Linked DNA regions of Homo sapiens: regions 1, 2, 3, 5 and 6 are each linked to region 4. The links are contacts of gene promoters, found by promoter capture Hi-C in blood cells and fetal thymus (Javierre and others, 2016). All regions are on one chromosome and are shown on one strand. Each heading gives the region's core, a stretch centred on a gene start or on the middle of the fragment in contact. The rest is flanking DNA. Distances are from core to core; before and after follow the strand shown. Region 1 overlaps TUT4 (terminal uridylyl transferase 4). Region 2 overlaps TUT4 (terminal uridylyl transferase 4). Region 3 overlaps PRPF38A (pre-mRNA processing factor 38A). Region 4 holds the start of SHISAL2A (shisa like 2A). Region 5 overlaps TUT4 (terminal uridylyl transferase 4). Region 6 overlaps ORC1 (origin recognition complex subunit 1).

The links. Contacts are between HindIII fragments. The CHiCAGO score rates a contact against its expected background, and 5 or more counts as called.
Region 1: a contact is called between a fragment that was not itself captured here and the fragment with the promoter of SHISAL2A in region 4, in 5 of 17 cell types (total CD4 T cells, naive B cells, naive CD8 T cells and 2 more). The highest score is 7.3, in total CD4 T cells.
Region 2: a fragment that was not itself captured here is called in contact with the fragment with the promoter of SHISAL2A in region 4 in 2 of 17 cell types (naive B cells and total CD8 T cells); the score reaches 5.5 in naive B cells.
Region 3: a contact is called between a fragment that was not itself captured here and the fragment with the promoter of SHISAL2A in region 4, in 1 of 17 cell types (naive CD4 T cells). The highest score is 6.3, in naive CD4 T cells.
Region 5: a contact is called between a fragment that was not itself captured here and the fragment with the promoter of SHISAL2A in region 4, in 1 of 17 cell types (total B cells). The highest score is 5.1, in total B cells.
Region 6: a contact is called between a fragment that was not itself captured here and the fragment with the promoter of SHISAL2A in region 4, in 1 of 17 cell types (naive CD8 T cells). The highest score is 5.4, in naive CD8 T cells.

Annotation. Positions count from the first base shown.
Region 1 is chr1:52,446,475-52,449,497 of GRCh38, reverse strand. TUT4 (terminal uridylyl transferase 4) reads left to right here. Exons shown (of 30, transcript NM_001009881.3): 21 at 2,831-2,908. Among named protein-coding and RNA genes, the nearest start is that of PRPF38A, 43 kb to the right of the region's middle. The HindIII fragment of the contact is 679 bases long and covers 1,318-1,996 here.
Region 2 is chr1:52,486,514-52,489,319 of GRCh38, reverse strand. It overlaps TUT4 (terminal uridylyl transferase 4), which reads left to right. Exons shown (of 30, transcript NM_001009881.3): 9 at 285-411. Among named protein-coding and RNA genes, the nearest start is that of TUT4, 65 kb to the left of the region's middle. The HindIII fragment of the contact is 3,142 bases long and covers 1-2,806 here.
Region 3 is chr1:52,418,398-52,421,415 of GRCh38, reverse strand. It overlaps PRPF38A (pre-mRNA processing factor 38A), which reads right to left. Exons shown (of 10, transcript NM_032864.4): 10 at 580-3,018. Among named protein-coding and RNA genes, the nearest start is that of PRPF38A, 15 kb to the right of the region's middle. The HindIII fragment of the contact is 1,868 bases long and covers 561-2,428 here.
Region 4 is chr1:52,631,759-52,634,468 of GRCh38, reverse strand. It overlaps SHISAL2A (shisa like 2A), which reads right to left and starts at 1,301. Exons shown (of 3, transcript NM_001042693.3): 1 at 794-1,301. The coding sequence starts at 975. It overlaps LOC124904178 (a long non-coding RNA gene), which reads left to right and starts at 1,014. Exons shown (of 2, transcript XR_007066084.1): 1 at 1,014-1,161. RefSeq lists silencers at 974-1,023, 1,034-1,223, 1,314-1,423. The HindIII fragment of the contact is 18,193 bases long and covers 1-2,710 here.
Region 5 is chr1:52,465,226-52,468,168 of GRCh38, reverse strand. All of the region lies in intron 15 of TUT4 (terminal uridylyl transferase 4), which reads left to right. Among named protein-coding and RNA genes, the nearest start is that of PRPF38A, 62 kb to the right of the region's middle. The HindIII fragment of the contact is 2,688 bases long and covers 145-2,832 here.
Region 6 is chr1:52,397,726-52,400,808 of GRCh38, reverse strand. ORC1 (origin recognition complex subunit 1) reads left to right here. Exons shown (of 17, transcript NM_004153.4): 4 at 2,946-3,083. Among named protein-coding and RNA genes, the nearest start is that of ORC1, 5.2 kb to the left of the region's middle. The HindIII fragment of the contact is 2,742 bases long and covers 421-3,083 here.

The sequences.
Region 1 (3,023 bases), core at 408-2,907, 190 kb after region 4:
CAAAACCTCATCTCTACTAAAAAATACAAAAATTAGCCAGGCATGGTGGCATATGCCTGTAATCCCAGCTACTTGGGAGGCTGAGGCACAAGAATGGCTTGAACTGGCGAGGTGGAGGTTGCAGTGAGCTGAGATTGTGCCACTGCACTCCAGCCTGGGTGACAGAGCGAGACTCTGTCTAAACAGAAAAATGCAATGTAAATATAACAGTACATATTAGAATATCACAATAAGATAAGAATTTTGGAAATGTTTAGGGTCATTCTTTACATAAATATGATTGACTTATTTGGTGATCCTTATAATATGATTGACTTGTTTAGAGGGAGGACTGAGTGCTAAGTTGAAGATGATTCGTGTTGAATGAGAGAGAACAGAGAGACAGCAGGGAGAGAGAGTGTGTGTGTGTGTGTCTGTGTGTGTGTGTGTGTAAAAGTGTATAGCATTAGTGCTTCTGGGGGCTGAAACAGAGTGGAGAGAATTAAACACAGTGAAACATGAGAATTCAAAAGAATAGGCAAAATGAGTGATGATTAACGTTACAAGGCCCACAGACCTACTCCACTGTGTTATCAGCCAACGTAGTTGGGCTGGATCATGGATATTACTGAGAAGTATGAAATCTCTTAAAAACAATCATGATCTAAAGAGTTGGATTGTTGTTACTCAGAAGTATGAATTATCTCAAAACAGGGTTCTAAAGAGGTAGTTTATTTCAATATCTAGCAAATAAATCTGTGTTTACAAAACATGAAATACCTATAATAGCGTCTGAATCTTTAAGGATAAAATATTACATGTCAGCCCCTTAATATCTTCACTTCTTTCTTGAGGTCAGAAATCCTATGTCTTTTGTTTCAGATATTAATAGCTGCAATTGCCTCTTTTTTTTTTTTTTTTTTTTTTTTTGAGACAGAATCTCGCTTAGTCACCCAGTCTGGAGTGTAGTGGCACAATCTCAGCTCATTGCAACCTCAATCTCCTGAGTTCAAGCGATTCTCCTGCCTCCGCCTCCCAAGTAGCTGGGACTACCAGCACGAACCACCACGCCCAGCCAATTTTTTGTATTTTTATTAGAGACGGGGTTTTGCCATGTTGGCCAGGCTGGTCTTGAACTCCTGACCTCAGGTGATCCGCCTGCCTCGGCCTCCCAAAGTGCTGGGATTACAGGCATGAGCCACTGCGCCCGGCCTCAGTCTTTCACTTTTGTTTTATGAAATGTCGGAATATGTGCTAGATGACTTTTAGTAAACTGTATCTGTTTAAGTAATATGTAAATGTTAAAAAGCAACTTATTAGCCCTAGTCCCTGGAAGCTTGATTTCTGTGTAACATACTTACATATTAAATATAGTCATTCAACAAACATATATTAAGTGTTCTCTATGTGGCTTTGGTCTAGTAGGGTTCTGGGTTTCAGAGATAAGCCATAGTCCTTACCCACAAAGAACTTAAATCTGAGGATAAAATTGGAGGGGCCAGACATGTAGTTAATTTTATAAATCACTGTCACATCAAAAATGGAAATGGCCATTGGGCCCAGGCCCACCTTAACTAGTGGATTTAAATGGTATTGTGGTTTAACTGTATTCTGGGACCCATTAGTCACGGTAGAGGGTAAAGAGAAGGTGGTGTGGTATGTTTTCTCCATTTATAAACTACTGACTGACTAATTTATATAGTCTTTCCTCATTTTCACTGGGAAAAGTGAGCACTTAGGGAGATGATTGTCTTGCCCAGAACCACTATTCCTCAGGATAGAGGCTAGAAATTAGGTCTCCTGACTGAATCTGTTGCACCTTCCTACTTTATTGCATCTCTTAAGCCTCCTTTAGAATAAAAGTATCAATTACTTGTGGAAGTCAGTTACACAGACATCTTACGGGATACTTTTCTTGTAAAAATAGCGTTTTTTTCTCCTTTTTTCTTCTCCTTAGGACAGCGGATTATTATTCATAATAAAGTTTATAGTCTTTATCAAAATGTAAGGGAAAGCTTCCTAATTTTCCTTTTTTTTTTTTGTTTTTTTGTTTTTTTGTTTTTTTTTGGTGAGATGGAGTCTCGCCCTGTCGCCCAGGCTGGAGTGCAGTGGCACGATCTCGGCTGACTGCAACCTCTGCTTTCCAGGTTCAAGCATTTCTCCTGCCTCAGCCTCCCGAGTAGATGGGATTACAGGTGCACGCCACCACGCCCAGCTAATTTTTTGTATCTTTAGTAGACACTGGGTTTCACCATGTTGGCCAGGCTGGTCTCAAACTCCTGACCTCATGATCCACCATTCTCGGCCTCCCAAAGTGCTGGGATTACAGGCGTGAACCACCGTGCCTGGCCCTAATTTTCCATTTTTACAAAATGATAGTCCAATTGCTTTTTAGCCTTATCTGATATAGATAAATGATTAAAGGTACTAGGTCCCAAAACAGTTCTGTTGCCTTCCTTTGGGTGCACAATCAGTGGGTATTATCTATTTTGTATTTTTATATCTGTGATCCTTTGATGAAACTGCTGTTTCATCATGACTGCTGTTTCTTTTTTAAGTTTTGCTTCATTATTCTTGGACTGGATATGTTTTGATAGGTCAAGTAGATAACATCAAATGTATCATTTGGAGTTTAATGCTCTTAAAAGACATCCTTTTCCAGCTTTGGTCTTTCAGATACGTTTTATTCATTAACTTCTTGGCATCAAATTATACCATCATCCTGACATGTTCTTTTTGGAAGAAGTATTTTAGTATGTCTTATAGGTAAATTCTAAAATGGTATTAGAGTATTTGGACCTTTGGGTTGGATCACTTGAAATCTAATAATACAATTAATTTTTTTATGCAGATCTTTGATGGAAAACAGATTCCACAGAGAATGGTTGATGGATGGAATGCTTTCTTCTTTGATAAAACAGAAGAACTGGTAATTTTAAAATAGTCTTTATGTTCTAGAATGCTCACTGATATATGTTAGCATCTGTATAATTTAATAATTTTACTTAAATTTGCTGTCCATGTTTTGGATAGTACTGTATAGA
Region 2 (2,806 bases), core at 142-2,641, 150 kb after region 4:
GAAATTAATTTCTCATTAACTTAAATACTAAGTTTGGTTGAAATTTATTTCTGAAGTACAAATGAATGTTAAAAACATCTTTCTTTAATTCGTATGGAACTCTAGTTATGGAATGACATGTAGTTTTCAGTTAGCTCTAAATTTATTAAAACATTTGTTTTTATTAGGGCTTTTACGGTACTATGTTACAATATGATAACTAGAAAGAAAATAGCCACAGGATTTGAAGTATTCTGCTTTTAAGGGTATTAATACAATGAAATTTGTTTCTTTCTCATTCACAGTGGTTTACTTTGTAGAGTGAGTGCAGGAAACGATATGGCATGTCTCACTACTGATTTACTTACTGCCCTTGGCAAAATAGAACCTGTCTTTATTCCCTTGGTGTTAGCCTTTCGCTACTGGGCTAAGGTAAGTGAAAGAGAGGAAAACTACTTATTTATATTTTTAGAAGGAAATGTATTTAATCTTCAAAATTAGGCCTTTTCTTGTACTGACATGTAACATCAATCATAACATGTGGGAGAAAGTAGTTTTCTGTGCTAGACAGAAAGTTGGTGTGGCAGGTTGTAATTTATGGACATAAAAATAAATTTTTGTAGACACACTTATGGATATATTTTAGAATTTTTAATTGTCATGCTATATTCTCCTTTTATGTACTATAGAAATGTTCTCTTTCATATCAGCATATGAGGCTCAAGTTTTCACTCTTACTGTAAGTTAAACTTGTAAGGTTTTAAGATGTATATACATTAAGATTCTTTTGTTGGCATATTTTTTTCCCCAGTCTCTAAGAATGCTATTCTCTTTCCTCTAAATCATTGATAACATGTACCAATTTCTGATTGGGCAACTGCTGAGCATTAGTTATTTAAGTTTCCTAAATTAGTCTTAATTTGTATGTCTAAAGGCTGTGGTTGCCCTGTGTTTATTTCTTTGATGTGGGGATAGGGAGTAGTAGTTAATTATCAATATCAGTCCAAATGACTAGAGAGAGAGATTTTAGCCTTTTGTTTGTGTATTCCTGCCCTATCGGTAGAGTATTCATCACTTGTTAGACTGGTGAGTAAATTCTCAGTCATATACAAAGAAAACTGGTTAAGGGGATGGTGTTAGAGTGGTAACTTCATAGCAAAAATAGAGAAGTCTCTGGAATTTTTTGTCTGGGCTCTGTTTAGAGAATTGCCCCCATGCTTGGAGCAGCACCAGCTGGCTGAGTACGAAACAGTCAGAAAGCCTAAGGTTGGGGCTTCTTTATACTCAAGGCCTTTGTATTTGCTGTTTCCTTCATCTAGAATGTTCTTACCTTAGGTATTTAGAATGCTTCACTCTTACTTTTTTCAGGTTTATGCTCACATTGATTACCAGCTGCCATACATAAATTTGTTGCAGTCTGTACTGTGAAATTGTAAACTCTTTGAGGGCAGGGATTTTAATGTTTTATGTATTCACGGCTGATCCCCACTTCCGCTTATTTTACTGTGTCAGCACATAGTAGGCACTCAGTAAATATTTGTTGAATAAATGACCTAGTTTCTTCAGAAAGGAGTTGTGTTTTTTTTTGTTTGTTTGTTTAAGTAGAGATGGGGTCTCATGATGTTGCCCATGCTGGCCTTGAACTTCTGGGCTCAAGCAGTCCTCCCACCTTGCCCTCCCAGGTGCTGGAATTATGGGTGTGAGGCACTGTGCCTGGGCCAGAAAGATTTTTAACCCATGGAAGAGAGTGGAGGCAGTAAAATAGGTTGAGGGAGGGTGACTACTTCCTCTCATTTATCTTATACTCTATGCCTAGCATACTATAGGAAATCAGTGTATGGAATGGAGTAAACCAATTCCAGGTATGGTTTTTTTTACTAAGTTTTTTTTTGTTTTTTGAGATGAGGTCTCTGTCACCTAGTGCTGGAGTGAGCGATCACGGCTAACAGTAGCCTCGACCTCCCAGGCTCAAGCGATCCTCCTGCCGCGGGCTTCCAGAGTACCTGGGACCACAGGCGTGTACCAACGTGCCTGGCTAATTTTTTATTTTTTATTTTTGTAGAGATGGGTTCTCATTTTGTTGCCCAGGCTGGTCTTCAACTACAGGGCTCAAATGATCCTCCCACCCTAGCCTCCCAAAGTGCTGGGATTACAGGTGTGAGCCACAGCACCCAGCTTTGCTAAGTCTTCAAGCAAGGTACTTCACCTATCTGAGCTTCAATTTTTTTCACCTGGAGAGAATATTTTGGTAATGCTATTAGATAATTCATGAGAATATACTTCAGGCTCGAAAATACTACAGAAATATAAAGGATGATGGAATACACAGTTGCTTCTTTGTTGGTACTTTTAAATTATGCCCTAATTTTTTTTGTGGTCATAAAGTCATGTCAGTTTTCTCCCAGACATTGTTCTACTCAGTAAAATAAGTAGTCTGTGTTAGAAGATTATAAATGATACTCAGATACATTCTTTTTATTTTGGAAAAAAATATGGCCCATAAATATTGTTTCCTAAAGTGACTCTTGGAAAAGGTTGCTCATGGTGTTTTAGTAGTTGATCCATGTAGATTCTAAATATGCCAGTCAATGGACACTGAAACATATATTACAAAACTGGTTGTAGAATGGTTTCTTTCTGTTTCCAACAGAATAACATGTCTCGTTTTTGTCATTTGTGTTAGTTGCAAAGAAAGTTTTTTCATGGTATTCATTTTCTTAAGAAACTTAGAAATAATTCCTAGTTTATTTTTCTTCTAAAAGATTTTTTTAAAATAGCTTTGTTTTTCTTGAAGTTTTAAGCCATATTGTACATTATCTAGTTAAGC
Region 3 (3,018 bases), core at 245-2,744, 210 kb after region 4:
TCAGTAACTGCCAGTGTTCAATAATTGGCAAAACTGTTCTGTTGAAAAACATATAGTTTAAAATTGATATAGTAGAAACTCAGATTTTAAGTCTGCAAAGTAGATTATGAGTTCAGATTCATTGTAGAGCAGTTAAGTAGAAAATTATCAATCTTATACAGGGAGAACACACACATTTAAGACCAAATTGTTTTGAAATGTTCTGTTTAATGACATGGAGATTAGTATTTTCCCTTGACATTAGGGTTATTAAAAATATAAATATGTACTGTATATTTGTTTATATCCCCTACAGATGGACATTTTTGCTGTTTCCAGTTATTCTTATATATACATATTATATATGTAATGTGTAAAATGATGATGGGATAAAGCTATTTGTGTGTACATGTAATTATTCTATTAGGGTAAATTCCCCTAAATGGGATTACTGGGTAAAAGGATCAAAAGTCCTAAGGTTCCTGCTACATATTGCCAAATTGCCCTTCATAAAAGTGGTTATCAATCTGTAGTTCCAGCAAACAATACGTAAAATGTGTTGGTATGCTTATAAAAAAGCTTTTAACTCCCAACAACTCATTTCTTCCTTGTAGAAATTAACATGTTTATTGTAAAAAGAAAATAAGCATTATATAAAAGTACAAAGTTTAAAAATCATTCAAAAGTTCATCAGCCAGAAAGAAGTACTATCTGGTGAACTTCATTCATTCCAACCATCTCTCTTAATCATACAGGCACATATATACAAATAGTTTTACAAAAGTGGGCTCATATGCTATATTTAACAAATATAGCAAATTAACAAAAGGAAAACAAGTGTGAAACTGAAAAAATGCTCAATTTAAATACTTTTTTCCCCACAAGAGAATCTAGTCTTGTAAGATTTCTCCTAAAATTAAGGACAATTACGGAAAACAATAAAGAGGCTATTTTTTTTTCTAGCTTCATGTATGTTTTAATTAGAGACTGTACGTGATTCCTGCTATGAAAGATGAAACCAGCACACTCTACTTGTTATTTCTATATAGACAGTGTTCATAATATTTGACTTTATAATCATTGCCCATTATTTTTAAAGTTTCTGAAGTGTTTACTAACACTCCTTTTACTGATTCTTTGTTCCTAAGTCCTTAATTTGATTCATTTCTTCTTTAGTTGAATTTCATTATTGGGCGGTTTTTTCCCAAAGACTCATGATTTGTACTTTTAAGTTCTTACAAACTTGAGAACATCTATAGCCTTTGTATTTTAAGACAACTTTGGCAAAGTATAAAATTCCTGGCACTTTTTCTCAAACCTTTGGAGCCTTTTGCTTCATTGCCTTCTTGTTATAAGATCTGAGACCATCCTGACCCCATTTAATTCTTTTTTCTTTTTGAGACGGAGTCTCACTCTGTTGCCCAGGCTGGAGTGCAATGGCGCGATCTCGGCTCACTGAAAGCTCCGCCTCCCGGATTCACGCCATTCTCCTGCCTCAGCCTCCCTAGTAGCTCTACCCGCCAGCACACCCAGCTAATTTTTTGTATTTTTAGTAGAGACGGGTTTCACTGTGTTAGCCTGGATGGTCTCGATCTCCTGACCTCATGATCCGTCTGCCTCGGCCTCCCAAAGTGCTGGGATTACAGGCGTGAGCCACCGCACCCGGCCAATTCTTTTTAAACCATCAGAATATTTCTTTATTCTACATATTTCTCTTTTCCATTTTTTATTTCCTCCAGCCTATTTTCTCTGTGCTGTTTTATGTTTTGTGGTTTCTAGTATAAGGCCTTTAAACTCCACCAATCTTATTTTTCATCTCTTAATCTCTTTTGAACTTTTTTTTTTTAAAGAGATCATGTCTGCTGTCTTTTTTGAGCAGGTGGAGAATTTCTGTCACATTAACCTTTTTGAGGGAGTGGGCAATCTGTGATCGTTCTTTTCTAAATAATGCTTATTTAAACTTCGGTCTACTGAAGAATAACAAACAGGAAGAGGTTAGAGGAATGAGCTTGAAGTTGGGTTGTTAATATTGGAACCCTCTCACCAAACCCATTCTTCTTCTTCTTTTTTTTTTTTTTTTGAGATGGAGTTTCGCTCTTTTTGCCCAGGCTGAAGTGCAGTGGCACGATCTCAGCTCACCGCATCCTCTGCCTCCCAGGTTCAAGCGATTCTCCTGCCTCAGCCTCCCAAGTAACTGGGATTACAGGCATGCGCCACCATGCCCGGCTAATTTTGTATTTTTTAGTAGAGACAGGGTTTCTCCATGTTGGCCAGGCTGGTCTCAAACTCCCGACCTCAGGTGATCTGCCCGCCTCGGCCTCCCAAAGTGCTGGGATTACAGGCGTGAGCCACCGCACCTGGCCAAAAATGCATTATTTCTTTTGCCCCTTGGAACACATCTCCCTTACTTTCTTAGTATTAAAAGGCGATTGTGCCCTATGGCAAAGCTTTTAAGTCAGTGTATTTCAAATTATTGGAAGTGAAATCGATTAAGTGGTTTCATCCAATATTAAAAACTGTTAACAAGTAGGAAACACCAGAATTCACTTTGCATAGTAAGTATTCTTTCCTGAAATTTGTCTCAGTACAGAATACAGATGTGTACAGAGGTAAGATGTAAAATACGTTTTTAAAATGTATGCTGTAGTCAAAAAGTTTAAAATGCTTCATCCATAGGCAAGCACATAGATGACAGAAAGAGCCTTACAGCAAGGTTTGTCCTCAAGCTCCATCTCCTGTGTAATTTTATCAAAACGATATCTACAGACATGCAACATGTCTTACTCTTACCTCCTTCTTCTAATTAAAGAATAGGGACATTCTCTTTCCTGCTATTGATTGGCTGTGGTACCTCAATTTTGGTCCACATATTACCATATGTCTAAACAAGTATGTTTTAATGTTTGTTTAGGGAGGTTTATTTCTGTTACTAAAATTTATTGGGCTTTGTGCGTGGGTTTATTTTTACTTTAAAACATATTTTAAGACAAAGTTTTATTTTAAGAGTGTACTGGATGACAGCTTGGTTGGTCCATGGGT
Region 4 (2,710 bases), core at 52-2,551:
TTGTCTCATGATGAACTTGGAGGCAGCTCTGACTCCCGAGTCTTCTGCCTTAGCTTGAGGATGGGGTACATCCCCAGCACTCACCACAGGGCTTGGCACACACCAAGTGCTCAGTAGAGAGTGCCCGAAAGAATGACTAAATACAAAAGGGAACCAAGGGTTGACGCTGGGCTGAGGCTGGGGTTGGGGTGTAGCACCAGGCGAGGGTTAAGTCTGGAGGTTGAGGTTTGGATGTAGATCTAGATATTAATAATATTTGGAGTCAGGATGTGGGAGAAGAGCTGAGGTGGGACTGCAGGCAGGACAGAAGAGGAGGTTGGGGCTGGTGATAGAATAAGGTCTGGGGTCAGTACTGGGGAGTGTGGAAAGTCAGGAATAAGGCTGGTGTTGATATTAGGAAGGGCACCTTGGTGGGATGATGATTGGGGTGGAGTTGGGCTGCCTGTGAATGTTTGAAGATGGAAGTTGCTGTTAGGGGGAGGCTTGATATGTGATTTGGGGTTGGGATGAGGGTGGTGATGGAATGAAGTTTGGGGTGGGGATAGAGTGAGGATTGTTTTGGATTAGAGGAGGGGGAGGTCCGAGCATGGCTCTAAATAATGGTTGGGGTCAGGATGAGGAAATCGAGCTGAGATGGGGTTTCACGGGGTGGTTGATGCTGTGGGCATGAGGACGGTAAGGACTAGAGCTTGCTGCTGATGTTCAGGTGGACACTCGGGTGGGGGCTGAGGCTGGGGTGAAGGCGCTGAGACTGGAGTGGGGTTCAAGGTAGGGTGAGGGCCAGGGACGGTACCTGAGCCACCACATGTAGCTGTGCTCGTAGGGGAAGAAGCTGTGCGGGTCGTCGCAGCAGTACTTGTGGTCGCGGAAGCCGCAGCAGAAGACAGCGGCCGCCTCGCCCCCCGGCCGCGGGCAGCTGAAGCCGCGCACCACCTCCTGCTCTGCGCTCACGTAGCTCGTGCAGGCGCCGCTCATCGCGCCCCGCGCCCAGCCCGCCGCCACCTCGGGCCACCAGACGGCCGGCTAGAGCCCGGCGGGGAAGCGAGGGACCGAGCGAGACGGAGCTGAGCCTGAGAACGGCAGAGACGAAGAGACCCAGGGGCCGAGAGAAGCCGAGACAGAGACAGCAGCGCGGGGCCCCGAGGACCGAGCGGCGGCCAGGTGCCCGGCCCGCGCGGAGGGGTAGGGGCAGGCGGGGCGGGCGGCGGGGGCCGGCGGCGGGAGTGACGGCTGCTGGAACGCGGCAGGAGCCGGAGCGGACGCGGGGAGCTGGGCCGGGAGCCGCGTGCTCGCCTGGCTCTGCCTGCGCTTCCTGCCCCCTCCCCACTGCGCTCCCCCTGCCTGCACGAGGGCGCTGGGTGCGCAACGACAGCACGACGCGGCCAGAGTGGCGGGGCGGGAATTCGAGGCCAGGGCGCGGGCGCCTTACCTGCACCGAGCCGGCGCCGGGAGTCTCGGGGCATTCGGGGCTGGGGCAGACAGACAAGGCACCAGCCGGCGACCACACGGCGGGGTCAGTGAGGAGAGTGAACACAACCTCACCCAACCTCCGCAAAAACCCAGGGGCCCGGGGATGTTCGCATCCGTGTTAAAGGTGAGAGCTGAGGGCCAGAGAGAAGCCATTTCCCGGAGTTCCTAAGCCCACGAGATTTTAACCGGGGGCGGCCTAGTAGGAAGTCCTTGCTCTTTCTGCGGCTTTCATGGTGCCTCTTTTCTAGCGGGCTTTTAGATGTCCTCATCATCTGGAGTCCCTGCTAGTCTCGCTGAGAGCTAGCTCGTGCACGGACAATGTCCACACTCTTCTGTTCATACTGCCTGCCACTGGCCTGGGACAAGGAGCCGAATATGGGTGTGGATGGGCCCAGACGGTAACCTCCTTCCCCACACTGACCAGCAAAGAAAGTCAGCAGACCTGTCCATTTTGAAAAATTACTTCCAGAGAACAAGGGCAGTGTTCTCACTAGCATCAGAGAACCACAGTCTGAAGGGGCTCTCAGTGCCTTGGCTTCCCCCATGTACCCTGTTGCCTTACGCCATCTGGAAGGGCTTCATACAGCACCTTCAGTGCCTTAGCTCTACATTTTTCACAGCAGTGGGTAGGGTAGGAAATAGTTACTGTGGTGCCTCGGGCACCCCCGATTCCTTCGCCCTTGGTTTGGACGTGTGGGGAACGGGCCGTGGGTATCAGGGGATCTGGGCTCCAGCCCAGCTCTACCCCTTCCCTGCTGTTTCTCTCTGAGCTTTGGGTTCCTTGTCCTCACCCAGGCCAGCTCCTCAGATGCTGATTGTGCCGCTGCCCTGACCTGGGTGGGCCCTAGGGCCCCTGAGAGGGATCAGATCTGGGCCTGCCGTTGAGAAACACACAGTCTGATGGAGGAGTCAGACTGACTGACGATCACAGCACAGGGCAGTAAAAAGGGAAATGCAAGGACCTGGACACAGAGGGGCACCATCTGAGGAAGCAGGGGAGGGCTCTGAGGGAGGCGGTGTCCTCAAGAGTCACTGTAAGGTCAAATATGAAAGCTGGAGGGAACTGTTATTATCCTCCAGAACATTCCTCCCCTGAGCTGTGGGTCTGAGCAGACTGGGAGCTGGAGAGCCTACACTAATGAGGGTGCACTTCAGCCTCTTTATCAGATGGAGAGTACAGGGGAGGAATCCTCTGGGAGGGAGAGGCTTCCTGGAGGCCTGGAGATCAGCTGGGAGGAAG
Region 5 (2,943 bases), core at 239-2,738, 170 kb after region 4:
TTAAAAAATTTATTGCGTTTTTGCTGTAGTCATGTAGTCTTGAGTTTCATTTATTTAAAAATATTTATTGAATGCTATGTGTTAAGTACTGTTCTAGTTGCTGGGAATACAGTGCTAATAAAAGAGATGAAACCTCATGAAGCTTATGTTTCAAATGGGGAGACAAATAGTTGACTAATAAATATATAATATTATATCAGCAAATAATACATGCTGTTAAAAGTATAGGAGATAAAAGAACTGAAGTGATGGAGTGTTATGATAGGCCTCTCTCATAAGGTAGCATTTGAGGAGAATCCTGAATAACATGAAGGAGCAAGTTATATAAATATCCAAGGAGAAAACATTGTTGATGGAACAAGAATAGATTATGTTTGGCATATTTGAGGAATAGCCAGGAAGTCAGTGTGGCTGGAGTGGAGTATTAGAGGTAGATTGTAATGTATAGAAGAGGTCAGAGAGGGGGTCTAGGGATTAAGTCATTAGTGCCTTATGGATGTTGGTAGAAAGCCTTTGAATTTTATTTTGAGTACCTAATGAGAATCTTTTAGAGGATTTTTAGTTAATAAATGACATGATCTGAGTGAATGGTTTGCTGGGCTATAAGACTGGAAGCAAGCAGAACATTTAGGAGGCTGTTGTGTGAGTCCAGAGTAGATGAGAAGTGGTCAGATTTGGGATATATTTTGAAGGTAGAACCAATAGGATTTGCTGATGGAAAATGTGAGGCATGAGAGAAAGAAAGAAATCAAGGATGGTTTCAAGGTTTTTGCTATAACAGTTACAGTAGGTGGTCCTATATAACTGAGATGGCAAAGAGCAGGAAGAGTAAGTTTTGGGCATGGGGATGAAGAATCAAGATTTTTGTGACTAAATATTTTAGAAAAGGATAAAAGTTGACTTTAATCAGAATGAATTTGTACTTTTACAAGATGACCCATTATGTGCTACATATTACAATTAAAAGTATTTGAAAACAAATATTTTTTAAATTAAAAAATCATATCATCATTATTGTTTTTTAGAGACAGGTTCTCACTCTGTTGCCCAGACTGGAGTGCAGTGGCATGATCATAGCTCACTGCAGCCTCAAACTTCCGGGCTCAAGCAATCCTCCTGCCTTAGCCTCCCAAGTCGTTAGGACTACAGGTGTGTGCCACCATGCTTAGCTAATTTATTTTTTATTAAGAAATATTTTTTTTGGCCAGGTGCGGTGGCTTACACCTATAATCCCAGCACTTTGGGAGGCTGAGGAAGGTGGATCACCTGAGGTCAGGAGTTCGAGACGAGTCTGGCCAATATGGCAAAACCCGTCTCTACTAAAAGTACAAGAATTTGCTGGGTGTGGTGGCACACGCCTGTAGTCCCAGCTACTCAGGCTGAGGCAGGAGAATCACTTGAACCTGGGAGGCAGAGGTTGCAGTGAGCCAAGGTCATGCCTTTGCACTCCAGCCTGGGCGACAAGAGCGAAACTCTGTCTCAAAAATATATATATATATATATATATATTTTTTTTTTTTTTTGAAATAGGATATTACTCTGTCACCCGGGCTCAACTGCAGTGGTGCAATCATGTGATCAGGGTTCACTTCAGCCTTGACCTCTGAGGCTCAAGCGATCCTCCTACCTTAGTCTCCTGAGTAGCTGGGACCACAGGTGCGCGCCACCACACCCAGCACATTATTTTTTGTAGAGATGGAGTCTCACCATGTTTTCCAAGCAGGTCTCAAACTCCTGAACTCAAGTGATCCACCCACCTCAGCTTCCCAGAATTCTAGGATTACAGGCATGAGCCACCGCACCTCGCCTTCTTTTTTATCTTAAAAAATTTTTGTAAAGACAAAGTCTCACCATGTTGCCCAGCCTGGTCTCAAACGATCCTCCCACATTGGTTGGCTTCCTGAAGCGCTGGGATTATAGGAGTATATAAAGTATTGACCAAATCTAAGTCTCTATTATATAAAATCATGCTCAGTTTTATTTGCTGATGAGTATAGCTTCTTTTTTGCCTCTCAGCTATCATTGAAATTTCAAGTAGAGCATCAGAACTGGATGGGGGTATGAAGTTTTGAAAGTATAAAGTGTCCTATAAATGTGTAGTCTACTTTAGAATTAATAGGAAGAGCCAGGCCCAGTGGCACACACCTGTTATCTCAGCCACTTGGGAGGTTGAGGTGGGAGTATTGCTTGAGGCAAGGAGTTCAAGACTGTAGTGTATAATGATTGTGCCTGTGAATAGCCAGTGCACTCTAGCCTGGGCAATATAGCAAGACCCTGTCTCTAAAAAAAAAAAAGTAATAGGAAGAAAAATCCAATTCTGTTAAACCACAGCTTATTTGAAATGGTAGCTGTTATTGGATGACACTGAGTCTGAAGGGTTAACCCTATCATAATTTATATCAAGTGGACTATAATCACTCATTTTTGGAAGAGCATCGTATACTAAGGTGATATTTGTAAACCTACATGAATTGTGCTTTGAAAGAACTAATTTATTTTTAAGAGGGCAGTCCTCAAATATTGATCTTAACTATTGGTAGTGATGTTGAGAATGTATAAAAGCAGATGGATTTATTATGTAAGTCGGAAAAAGCTAAAAGTCTCAATGATTGTTTGGATGTGGACATTGAGAGACAGATATTAAGGATTGCACCTGTATTTCTGATGTGGGCATCTGTGTACATGATGGTACTATTTGCTAAGAACAGGGATAATAGAAATAGTAATAGATTTGGGGCAAAGTTGATAGTTCAGACGTGTTGAATGTATGATGTCTGTGGAAAATTGGAAAAAGCAGTTGGGTACATGGGTATGGGAACTTGGGCAAAAGCTTGGGCTCAAGATGTTTTGGAATTTCTCAGTATTTCTTCCAGTGGTAGGTAATTTAAATCATAGAAATGGACAAGAGCATGTTGTATTAGGTCATCAGCAGATAGCAGAAGA
Region 6 (3,083 bases), core at 542-3,041, 230 kb after region 4:
AGCCACGGCTGCCCCTAGGCTGGAGGAACAAAAGGGAAGGTGGCATCAACCAGAGCCTACAAGCCCACATCGAAAGCCTTAGCTGATTTGCTGACCTTCTAACCCTCTGCAAAACAAGAGGAGAGCACAGAAATGTGGGAGTGGGGCACAGCTCCACAAGGAGGATTAGGAAGATAGCAATTTGAAACTATCTAAAACTGCCTCGTTCAAGAGACAGAAGAAGGGCATGGTCATTAGGTAATCCTGTGGTAGTCTGTATGCCCAAGAGAAGGAACTGATAGACTGAGTGGATAAAGATGTTTTATATTACTATAGTCCCCCTTATCCGTGGTTTCACCTTCTGCGATTTCAGTTACCTGACAACAACCATAGTCCAAAAATATTAAATGGAAAATTACAGAAAAAAACAAGTCATAAGCTTTAAATTGTGTGCCATTGTGAGTAATGTGGTGAAATCTCACGCTGTCCCACCTGAAATGTGAGTCATCCCTTTGTCCAGTGTATCCGTGCTGTACAGTATGTGTGTGTAGGAAAAATCATAGCATATACAGGGTTAGTGGCAGCATCTGCAGGTTCAAGCATCTACTGGTCTTGGCGCGTACCCTCAGCAGATAAGGGGAGAGTACTGCACATAGATAAGGAGGATTTTGGACATACTTTCTCTTTGACATACTTAGAAGTATGGAGAAAAACCTCATCAAACTAATGTCCAGTAGAGGCAGCACATCAGAATCATGGGCTTCGGTGTATAGATTCTAGAATCCTCTCTTGGTGCTCCATTGGATGACTTTAGTCTTTCTCTGAAGAAAGCTAAGCAGGGAAGAGAGGATGATGATGAGGCACTAATGAGTGTTCTTTCGGTTGGAGCTATTGCTGGTACGGAGTGATACTAATCGTATGCTGTAATAATAAAGCTGAAGATTGCAAGCATTTGCCAGAAGTCATCTCAGTGGTTGATGCTGTAATTCTTGTGTGTGTGTGTGTGTGTGTGTGTGTGTGACAGTGACAGAATCTTGCTGTGTCACCCAGACTGGAGTGCAGTGGCACAATCTCAGCTCATGCAGCCTCAACCTCCTGGGTTCAAGCAGTTCTCCTGCCTCAGCCTCCCAAGTAGCTGGGATGACAGGCACCTGCCACCATGCCCAGCTAATTTTCTTTTTCTTTCTTTTTTTTTTTTTTTTTTTTGAGACAGAGTCTCGCTGTGTCGCCCAGTCTGGAGTGCAGTGGCGCCATCTCGGCTCACTGCAAGCTCTGCCTCCCGGGTTCAAGCCATTCTCTTGCCTCAGCCTCCCGAGTAGCTGAGACTACAGGCACCCGCCACCATGCCCAGCTAATTTTTTGTATTTTTAGTAGAGACGGGGTTTCACCGTGTTAGCCAGGATGGTCTTGAGCTCCTGACCTCATGATCCGCCCGCCTCAGCCTCCCAAAGTGCTGGGATTACAGGCGTGAGCCGCCGCACCTGGACAATTTTTTGTATTTTTAGCAGAGATGAGGTCTCACCATGTTGGGCAGGCTGGTCTCCAACTCCTGACCTCAAGTGATCCGCCTGCCTTGGCCTCCCAGAGTACTGTGATTACAGACGTGAGCCACTGCACCCAGCCTGATGCTATAATTCTTGCTAGGATTTTTGTTTTGCTGCTGTTTGATGCTGTCTTTATAGTCACTGATTTTTATTTGTTCGTTGCCTGTGTTTAGAGTAGCTCCTCTCAGAGGCCTTTTTGTCATTCCTTTGCCGGCTGATAGCACCATTAGGAAATGGAGCAATCCCAGAAGAGCGGGTGTGTGGGCTGGAATTAGATTGCTGCAGTTGGTCATGTGACCTTTGACAAACTCTTTAAGGTCCCCCGTCACTTGATTTCTTTGCCTGAAAAGGGGGATAGCTGTAGTACCTACCTTGTAGGGTTATTAGAAGGATTAAGGATCGGCCAGGTGTGGTGGCTCATGCCTGTAATCCCAGCACTTTGGTAGGCCGAGGCAGGCGGATCACGAGGTCAGGAGATTGAGACCGTCCTGGCTAACACGGTGAAACCCCGTCTCTACTAAAAATACAAAAAAATAATTAGCTGGGCGTGATGGCGGGCGCCTGTAATCCCAGCTAATTGGGAGGCTGAGGCAGGAGAATGGTGTGAACCTGGGAGGCGGAGCTTGCAGTGAGCCAAGATCAAACCACTGCACTCCAGTCCAGGTGACAGAGTGAGACTCCGTCTCAAAAAAATAAAATAAAATAAAAGATAACACATGTTGGGCCAGGCATGGTGGCTCATGCCTGTAATCCCAGCACTTTGAGAGGCCAAGGCGGGCGGATCACTTGAGGTCAAGAGTTTGAGACCAGCCTGGCCAACATGGTGAAACCCTATCTCTACTAAAAATATAAAAATTAGCCAGGCGTGGTGGCACAGGCCTGTGGTCCCAGCTACTCGGGAGGTTGAGCCAGGAGAATCTCCTGAACCAGGGAGGCAGAGGTTGCAGTGAGCCGAGATCACGCCACTGCACTCCAGCCTGGGGGACAGAGCAAGACTCCGTCACAAAAAAAAAAAAAATTTTGGCGGGAGGTGGTGGCTCATGCCTGTAATTCCAGCACTTTGGGAGGCCAAGGTAGGCAGATCACGTGAGGTCACGAGTTTGAGACCAGCCTGGCCAACGTGGTGAGACCTCGTTTCTACTGAAAATACAAAAATTAGCCAGGTAGGATGGCAGGTGCCTGTAATCTCAGCTACTCAGGAGGCTGAGGCAGCAGAATCACTTTAACCCAGGAGGCAGAGGTTGCAGTGAGCCAAGATGGGGCCACTGCACTCCAGCCTGGGTGACAGAGACTCTGTCTCAAAAAACAAAAAACAAAACCACACATGTCAAGGGTTAAGCACAGTGTCTGGCACATAGGAATTGCTCAGTAAAGTGTCCTTGAGTTGTCTTAACCTTTCCCTTTCCACCAAATTCTTTCTAGACTCTGATCCTCCTCCTAAGAAACGTGCTCGAGTACAGTGGTTTGTCCGATTCTGTGAAGTCCCTGCCTGTAAACGGCATTTGTTGGGCCGGAAGCCTGGTGCACAGGAAATATTCTGGTATGATTACCCGGCCTGTG